2 separate regions of the Homo sapiens genome follow, and region 2 is linked to region 1. The links are contacts of gene promoters, found by promoter capture Hi-C in human tissues and cell types (Jung and others, 2019). All regions are on one chromosome and are shown on one strand. Each heading gives the region's core, a stretch centred on a gene start or on the middle of the fragment in contact. The rest is flanking DNA. Distances are from core to core; before and after follow the strand shown.

Region 1 (4,321 bases), core at 789-3,288:
CCCCTCTCTTCACTCTCTGTCCTAGTCTAGTCACCTCCCATCCCATGAACTGAAACACATTCTTAGAATTTTGCAATTAGAAAATCACTGATGATGTTGGTGCGTGCTAGGTGTCATTGCAAGCTGGAAGTGTCAACTAGGGGTATACACTTTGAGGAGGGCGTGTCAACTAGGGGTATACACTTTGAGGAAGGCTAGTTGGAGAAAAAAGCAGGAAAGTAGCTAGAGAGGGATGAGTTTTAGGAAGGATGTGGTTTGGTTTGGTTTGCTTTGCTTTGCTTTGCTTTAAATAGGAGAGACTTGAGATTTCCTAGGGAAAAGAAGCTGGTAAGGTGTGAGAAGCTAAAGACACTAAAGAGATGGGATAATGAAGAGACAAATCAGCAGGGGTCAAGGGTACACATGGGAGATTCAGCTCTGGGCAGGAAAGACAGTCCCTTATCTGAAGATGATTCAACCAACAATGACAACACTGATGGCTAGGGCTGGATGGCCACATTGAACACAGCCACGTGGTCCCTGCAGTCATGGAGCTTTTAGTGTAGGAAAGAGGAGATGGATGGCAATGGGCACACTGAGTAGGTGGTGCTGGATTCAGAGGCGTTTCTCTTTGTCCCTGCTGCTGCATTTATGACTGTGTCCTGCGTGAGGACATACTCTTGCCCATCAGGCTACCAGCAACTTTCTGGGGCAGGAGCCTATCCTCTCCTATTCCAGCTCTCTTGGGTAGGTGTGCCAGCACCCACAGGGGCCCAGGATGGGGTAGCTCCTCTTTCGGCTGTCCTTCCCTAACCTACTAAGATTCTACTGGGCCTTCCATGGACCTGTCCTGATTCTCTCACCCCAGAACACAAGAAATACTCACTGTCTACACTGTCTGCTGTTGCGGCTGGGGATCAACCCTGATTTAGATTTGGGTCTTCCTGATGCCTCTACCATTTACTGGCTGTATTACCTTGAACAAGTTCTTTAACCTCCATGAGTCCTAGTTTCTCAGTCTGTGAAATGCGATTGATAACACTGATGAACCTTGCTTAGTTCATGGAGTTGTGGAAAGATTCCAGTGAGGTAGATGTGGAAGCCCAGAAGTGTGTGAAAGGGTGTACATGGCAGGGGATTAAGGTAGGCTTTTGATGATCTCCCTGGCTTAATTTGCAGTTCCTCGGAGGGTACCTCATGTAGCATGGGGCATAGTCACTGGCACTCAGTATAAACCTGTGAAGACTGACCTCTCCCATCCTAAAACACTGTCTCCACCTGGAATTAACTGTTGCCCACCTGAAATTAACTGTTGCCCTCCCTATGCTCCGGTGGCTATTGCAGTACAGGCTTGCTCTGTGAAGGGCTTTCACTGTGAAGAGTGTTTAACTGGATGGGCCCCAGGTGGCCCCAGCAGCCTGCCTTCCCTGCTAGTGAGGCCATGGGCTGGTGCATGCCAGCTCTGTCCACTTGAAGGGGGAAGGGTCCATCGTAGGGAGCCAGTGCAGCTGGCAGGGTTCAGGCCTGTGGGCACCGCTGGGGACAAAGCCACTCTGAATGCCTCTCAATGAGTGCTTGTGTTCTGGGAATGGGGGCGGGGTGACATCCAGCCTCTTTCCCTCTCCGCCCCCGACAGGATGTCCCAGGCTGGACGCGGCAGAGGAGGTCCCCCACAAGTGAAGGTCCAGCCCTGCTCCTCCAGGGTTGGCCCATGTGTCTGGGCATTCGGAGGTGGCACCAGGATCAGGGCTTCTGGAGTCCAGCATAGTGATTGGGCCCAGGCCGGGGGCGGGTCCAGGACACAGCCAGGCTTCCCTGGCCGCAGTGCCCAACTGCCCGCAGTGCCCATGGTGGCTCGGATGGGAGGAACCACCGCGGAGCCGGGGACAGGGGGAGCAGGGCAGTGCTCTGCTGGGTGAGGGGCACCCAGCTCCAGAGGCTAGGTGGGCGTCGCTGGTGGGTGGACTCCTGGGCGCTGCGCGGAGCCGCGCCGGCTGGGTTAGCGCGGGCGGGGCGCTTAGTCCCACCCCCAGAGGAGGCGGAAGAGGAGCCCGAGCCTGGCCGCGGGCTGGGCCCCGCCGCAGCTCCAGCTGGCCGGCTTGGTCCTGCGGTCCCTTCTCTGGGAGGCCCGACCCCGGCCGCGCCCAGCCCCCACCATGCCACCCGCGGGGCTCCGCCGGGCCGCGCCGCTCACCGCAATCGCTCTGTTGGTGCTGGGGGCTCCCCTGGGTAAGGGGATGGGGAGAGATGCGGCAGGAGTGGGATGGGGGCGGAGGAAGGGGAGGGACCGATCCGAGGGGCTTGGGCTCGGGGCTTCTCCGAGACCCTCCGGCTGCCACGGGAGCCTTGGGTGTTGCTGGGTCCTCAAGAAGCGGGAAGAGGGAGCTCCAGGATGCTGGGCCATGGGAGGCTGATCCCGGGGTGCAGGGTCAGCTTCAGGCAGAGGCCTCGGGGGCTCTGGGGCTGAGACCCTCAGGGTGGAGACAAGGGGCAACCCTCAGTGTTCGGGAGCCGTCAGGCTGGGGACCGCCGGGGGAGTGGGGCCGAGCGCGGCTGGGGATGAACTGGCCTGGTGGCCACTGGGCACCCCCAATCCCTGCCCGCAGTGCTGGCCGGCGAGGACTGCCTGTGGTACCTGGACCGGAATGGCTCCTGGCATCCGGGGTTTAACTGCGAGTTCTTCACCTTCTGCTGCGGGACCTGCTACCATCGGTACTGCTGCAGGGACCTGACCTTGCTTATCACCGAGAGGCAGCAGAAGCACTGCCTGGCCTTCAGGTGGGTTCCTGCCTCCTCACCCTCACCACCTCCTCTATCCTTTTCTCCAGAGGCCTCCTCTTCCTCCCTCCCGGACTCCTGCCTCCTCCGTTGTCGACCTCCACATTCTTAGCTGAATAGAGTCACCAGGACTCAAGCCTGGCGGCAGAGCTAGGTGCTTAGGTGCTGGTGCCTGGGAGTTCCAGAAAAGGCATGTTAGTTACCTTCATAGGCTTTGACTGGGCCCGGGGTTTCCAGGTTCTTTCTGGAGCCCTCCCTTTGGTCCTGCCAGGTCATGGGGAGGGAGGGTTCAAGGTTAACACCCGGACGACAGTGTAGCTTTGTGGAAGAAGCTCTGGCACAAAGGCAGGAGACTTGGGTTTGATTCCCAGGTCCACTTCTTACTAGCTGTGTGATCTTGGAGAAGACACTTGCCTTCTATGGGTCATTGCTTGCCAAATTAGTGGTTGTCAAACTTTTTTTTAATATATCATATATAAAATAGATATAGAGACTTCTGATTGAAGCGGGGTTTGGAAAAAATGGCTCTAGATTATTTCTAAGGCTCCTTTCAGTGTTATGCTGTATGTCTAATCATTTAAGTTGTAGATATAAAAGCAATGGTTGGGGGCGCACTGCAAATCCCCGTATGCTTCACACTAGCCAGCCAGGCAGCATAGCCTTCTGGGAAGTGGAGGTCCTCTAAGATCTCCTTCACAGGGACTGGGCAGAGCCCCACAAGGAACCCCAAATCTCAGCATGCCATGGCCCCCCTGCTGGCCAGGAGTTGGAGCCAGCATAATGAGGACTCCGTCCTATGAGTGTTGGAAGGTGAGAGGACCTGTTCTTTGTCTAAAGCCCCAAGACCATAGCAGGCATCGCCTCAGCTGTGATCCTCTTTGTTGCTGTGGTTGCCACCACCATCTGCTGCTTCCTCTGTTCCTGTTGCTACCTGTACCGCCGGCGCCAGCAGCTCCAGAGCCCATTTGAAGGTACACCCAGTACTGGGCAAGAAGGGCCTCAGATGGGCTGGGCTAAGTCCAATAATGGGCAGCAGAGAGTTCATGGATTGGGTAAATTCTGTAGTAGTATGTGCTTCTGTATACACACACCTGCCAGCATGAAAACCCAGAAAAATGCTTGTAAACCCGTGAATATTAGAATGTGCCTGGGATATATGGAACATCAGACTTTGTGTGCATTTCTGTGCATACACATGAAGATTCAAATGTGTACAGGAGTGCAGTCTGTCAACAATAGTGGGTGCAGTGGGTGTATGCATACATATGACTCTTAGTAAGTACACGGGGTCAGGTCTGTAGTGATGAACATTAATTGAGTGTGCTCCAGTGGATGGCAAAATATGTGCCTGAGTGTTGGCATGTGATGCACATATGCCACAACCTGATGGACATGGGGACAGTGATGCCATACGGGAGATCAGTGTGGGAGGGAAGGGCTAGGAGAAGACCCTCTTAGTGGCAGCTCTGCTGGATTACAGGATACCAGCCCTGAGCTGTCCCCTTCTTGCCCAAGTGAGATATTCCCTGGGCTGTGCTCCCTGGTTCATGAGGTCTCTGAAACC
Region 2 (4,321 bases), core at 948-3,447, 330 kb before region 1:
GATAGAGTATGGGACAGGCTAGAATGCTATTTGATGGCAAGAGCAAAAGGTCAATAATTTTTCAGCCTGGCTGCTGCTTCTTATGGAATCTTCTTCCCTTTGGGTTATGGACCCCTTAGCCAGCGCCAGCTTCCCCTCCACCATCAGCATATCCCTCCTGCCAGGCCAGAACAACTTGCCCCATTGAAGATCCCAAACTACTAGTGGTCTAGCCTTGGCCATCCTGGTGTGGTGACCAACAGGCAAGAGCCCAGTGACCCTGCATCCGGGGTGTTTGGGGTGCCAGAGAGAAGCAGAGGAGGAGCTGGAATTGGCAATGGACCCTAGGTTCCTTGCCAGAGCTCTTGCCCCACAGCAGGCCCTGAGAAACAGGATATTTAATGAAATCCTGTCTCCCAGTCCTTCAATGCCCAAGTCACTGTTCCCGTGGAAAGACACTGATGTTTGTACAGATGTGCATCTCTGTTGCTGCGTGGCAGCATTTTTATCTCCTGTCTCTGCAGAGCCCCTTCCCTGGGACTGAGGAGCCACAGAAGGCTTTGGGATCTGTGGATCCTTGCCATGAGCCGAGACCTCCCAGAGCTCCAGCACAATGACGGGAAGGCCAGGCTGCTATTCCAGGCCAGCCCTGGGTGCCACAAAGCAGACAGTGGGCTCAGGGAACATAGTCAGCATTTCCGTTGCATTTGCCACCACCACAGGCTTTCCAGTGGCGTGCAGCAGTCGCTACTCTTTCCACAGGTACCAGGGAGTGTGTTCATCCAGTGACTGGCTTGGGACCAACCTGGGGTGGGGCTTTGATTTCTGAACCTTTTCTCCATGAGACCCCAAGAAGCCCCTGCCTTGACCACAGCTTGCCTCTGTGGTGGGTGGGACCCCTTGCTAGTGGAGGATGGGAGCTCCTTTGTGAGTCCTTCTCTTCATTTTAAAGGGACAGAGTCGGCAGTCCCTCTTGCTGCTGGGACAGTGGGATATTGTCAGTCAATGAAGTAGTCCTAAGTGTAGTAATTTTTAGTGTTGTGAGAATGGTGATTTGCAACAGGAAACAAGAACTAGCTCCCAGCCTAAAGGGTGATGTGGGAAAAGAAGGTAAACGAATCTGCCCCATCACACATGGTGTTACGCAAAAACAGGATGTGGGAGCTGCACAGATCTGAGTTCAAATCCTGATTCTGTTACTTACTTACTTACTAGCTGGGTAACTAACCAGGGTGCTTTAGTTTCCTTGACTGTAAATGAGGTAATTGTGAGAATTAAAGAAGATTAAATCTGTATAGTAGCTGGCATATGCTAGACATTCAATAAAAGTTAGTTTCCTTCACTTCCATTATCCATGTTTCTAGATTTTTCTTCTGAGTCCTTTTTTTCTGGACATTGGAAGCTCCCCACAGATACAGAAGTTTTTCCCTATTAGGCAGTAGGCTTCCTGGGGGCAGGGTTCTGTCTCTTCCATTAGTGTAGGATCTGGTTAAGGACAAGGCTGTGTTTGGCTGTGTTCCCTACTCAGCCTGGGGCCTCCATGAGATTAGGAACTGTGCCTTGCCCATCAGCCTGGGAACTCCCTGCAGGCTGGGGCTCTGTTCCTCCATCAGATCCCCCATGTTCAGGGCCCTTAGGCAGTAAGCTTGGTCACAGCATGAGACTATCAATGGTTGGAACAAAGGCACCCAGTTAGGTTTAGGTTTGAGAATCAACCAAGGAGACCAAGGAGGTTCTGAAGGTATTTTTTATTTATTTATTCCTATTTATTTTTCGGTTTTTTTAGAGACAAGGTCTTGCTCTGTCACCCAGGCTGGAGTGCAGCGGCACCATCATAGCTCACTGCAGCCTTGAACTCCTGGGCTCAGGCGGTTCTCCCACCTTAGCCTCCTAAGTAGCTGAGACTACAGGCACACACCACCTTGCCTGGCTAATTTTTTTTTTTTTTTTTGTAGAGACAGCTGGGTTGGGAAGTCTCACTATGTTGCCTAGGCTGGTCTCGAACTCCTGGGCTCAAGTGATCCTCTGGCCTTTCAGCCCCAAAAGTGCTGGAATTACAGGCATGAGCCACCAAACCCAACCTGAAGGTATTTTTCTAAGGTCAAGTATGCCCCCCGACCTTGGGTCCTAGTTGGTAGAAAGCATTTCCGAAGTGGAGACATCTGGATGGCAGATGTGAAGTTGGCTGGGATGGGCGAAGGTCTGGAAGGCTTCAGATTCCAGGCCCCATGACTCACTCCTCCATCACAGCAACCCCTCAGCAGCTGGGCCTCCTGAGCCCTGGGCAGGACAGGGTTAGTGGGCCAGGCCCAGGTGGGCAGTGGTCCTTTGCCTTGGACACTGTATGGTCTGAAAGGATCCCGGCAGGACTGATCACTTTTGAAACTGCTTTCTGAAAGCTCCAAGCTTCCTTCTGAGTGGAGCTTAAGATATAATATTAAGCAGGTCATTCTAGGACTGTATGAGAGCAGAATGTGGCATCTCTTTCTGTTTTAGCTTGCAGGGTACTTCTAGGCGGTTGGTGCTCTCTCCTGGGCCTGGTGGATGGAAGGGAGCAGGCAGGGAGGGGTGGGGCAGGCCCTGCCTACAGAGCCTGTCAGTAGGGAACCAGTGAGTCACCAGAAGTCCAATACCTCAGTCCAGATCCTGGATGCTGTTGGATCACGGGATCTGTCTGAGCATCAGTTTCCTTTTCTGAAAAGTAGGGATGATAACAGCCTAGGACGGTGGGTGAATCAGTGAGGTAATGCACAGGAACACGCATAGTAAATAGTTTTTGCCAGAGTGGGTGGTTATGAGTATTTAGAGTGGCCTGAGCCTCCCAATTGAAATATCCTGGCCTTTTGTCAAGTCCTAAGAGAGGATGTGTGGGGGAAGCTACAGACTAATGAAGAGGTGACCGGATCGTCAGAGGGTGCAGACATGCTTAGCAAGCTGGTGGTGCGACTCAGGGCTAGCTGCCCCTGGTCACGCTCCCCCTGTGCATCCGCGGCAGCAGGAAACATTTGTCCTCAGGAAACAGCCCCTCGAAGAGCGTCCGGACGCCGGGACCCAGCCTGGATGGCAGAGGGGGCGTTAACTCGTCCCACAGGTGCCACTGACCCAACACGATTTTTTTTCTGGTGTATCTTTCTGGGAGATGTATCTTTCTGGGAGATGTTGGAACTGGGCCCAGAGAAAAGCATACGAGACCACAATCCCCAAGACACTGCTTGGTGGGGTACCCCACATGTCTGCTTCAAGTGCCACAGGTACAGCAAGGAAAGCCTGCAGGATCCCTCCACATCAGAGGTAAGGAAGAACCCAGAATCTGGAATTGGATGCCAGGAGCTTGAGTTCTGGGCCTGATATGACCACCTGGGGGCCCTTTGGCTAACACCCCACTTCTCTGAGCCTCAGTTTTCTCATCAGCAAAATGAGGGCATGGATCCCTATTTCAGTGTGTTATTGTAGGGGTAGAATGAGGTAACATGTGAAAGACCTGCGAAGGCAGAATGCTGTGGCCCTGACAAGCAGAAGCTTTGCAGGCAGGCAGATCTGGTTGGGATCCGATTCTCTTTGGACCGTAAATTCCTGGCCAGAAGTGGTGGCTCACACTTGTAATCCCAACACTTTGTGAGGCCAAGGCAGGAGAATCACATCAGCCAAAGAGTTTGAGATCAGCCTGGGCAACATAGCAAGACCCCCGTCTCTACAAGAAATTTAAAAAATTAGCCAGGCATGGTAGTGTGTCCCTGTAGCCCTAACTACTCAGGAGGCTGGAGTGGGAAGATCTCTTGAGTCCCAGAGGTTGAGGCTGCGGTGAGCCATGCTAGCACCACTGCACTCCAGCCTGGGTGACAGAGCAAGACTGTGTCTCAAAAAAGAAAGAAAGAAGAAAGGAAAGAAGGAGGGAGGGAGGGAGGAAGAAAGGAAGGAAGGAAGGCAGGCAGGCAGGCAGGCAGGCATCCTCGGCCCTGGCACAGGGTCTGGCTCATTGTAGATGGTCAGTTTGTAGGTGTGAAAGGAATAGTTCAGTCTCACCTCCTCCACTTTGTAGCAGTGTGGCTTTAACTTTTCTCACCTTTAGCGTCCTTACCTATTACAGGGGAATGGGGCCAGGCACGGTAGCTCACGCCTGTAATCCCAGCACTTTGGGAGGCCGAGGCGGGCAGATCACTTGAGGTCAGGTGTTCGAGACCAGCCTGGGCAACATGGCGAAACCCCGTCTCTACTAAAAATACAAAAATTAGCTGGGTGTGGTGACACACACCTGTAGTCCCAGCTATTTGGGAGGCTGAGGCAAGAAAATTGCTTGAACCCTTGAACCCAGGAGGCAGAGGTTGCAGTGAGCCAAGATTGT

The links. The method cuts DNA at HindIII sites, captures the fragments that hold promoters and counts their contacts. A contact is called where the count stands out against the background at its distance.
Region 2: a fragment that was not itself captured here is called in contact with the fragment with the promoter of SHISA4 in region 1 in 2 of the 25 tissues and cell types used here (H1 embryonic stem cells and spleen).

The regions. Positions count from the first base shown.
Region 1 is chr1:201,886,860-201,891,180 of GRCh38, forward strand. It overlaps SHISA4 (shisa family member 4), which reads left to right and starts at 2,039. Exons shown (of 5, transcript NM_198149.3): 1 at 2,039-2,208; 2 at 2,586-2,757; 3 at 3,595-3,728. The coding sequence starts at 2,136. RefSeq lists enhancers at 1,532-2,041, 1,882-2,176. The HindIII fragment of the contact is 16,044 bases long and covers 1-4,321 here.
Region 2 is chr1:201,560,259-201,564,579 of GRCh38, forward strand. The region is part of intron 1 of NAV1 (neuron navigator 1); the gene reads left to right. Among named protein-coding and RNA genes, the nearest start is that of NAV1, 23 kb to the left of the region's middle. The HindIII fragment of the contact is 3,528 bases long and covers 434-3,961 here.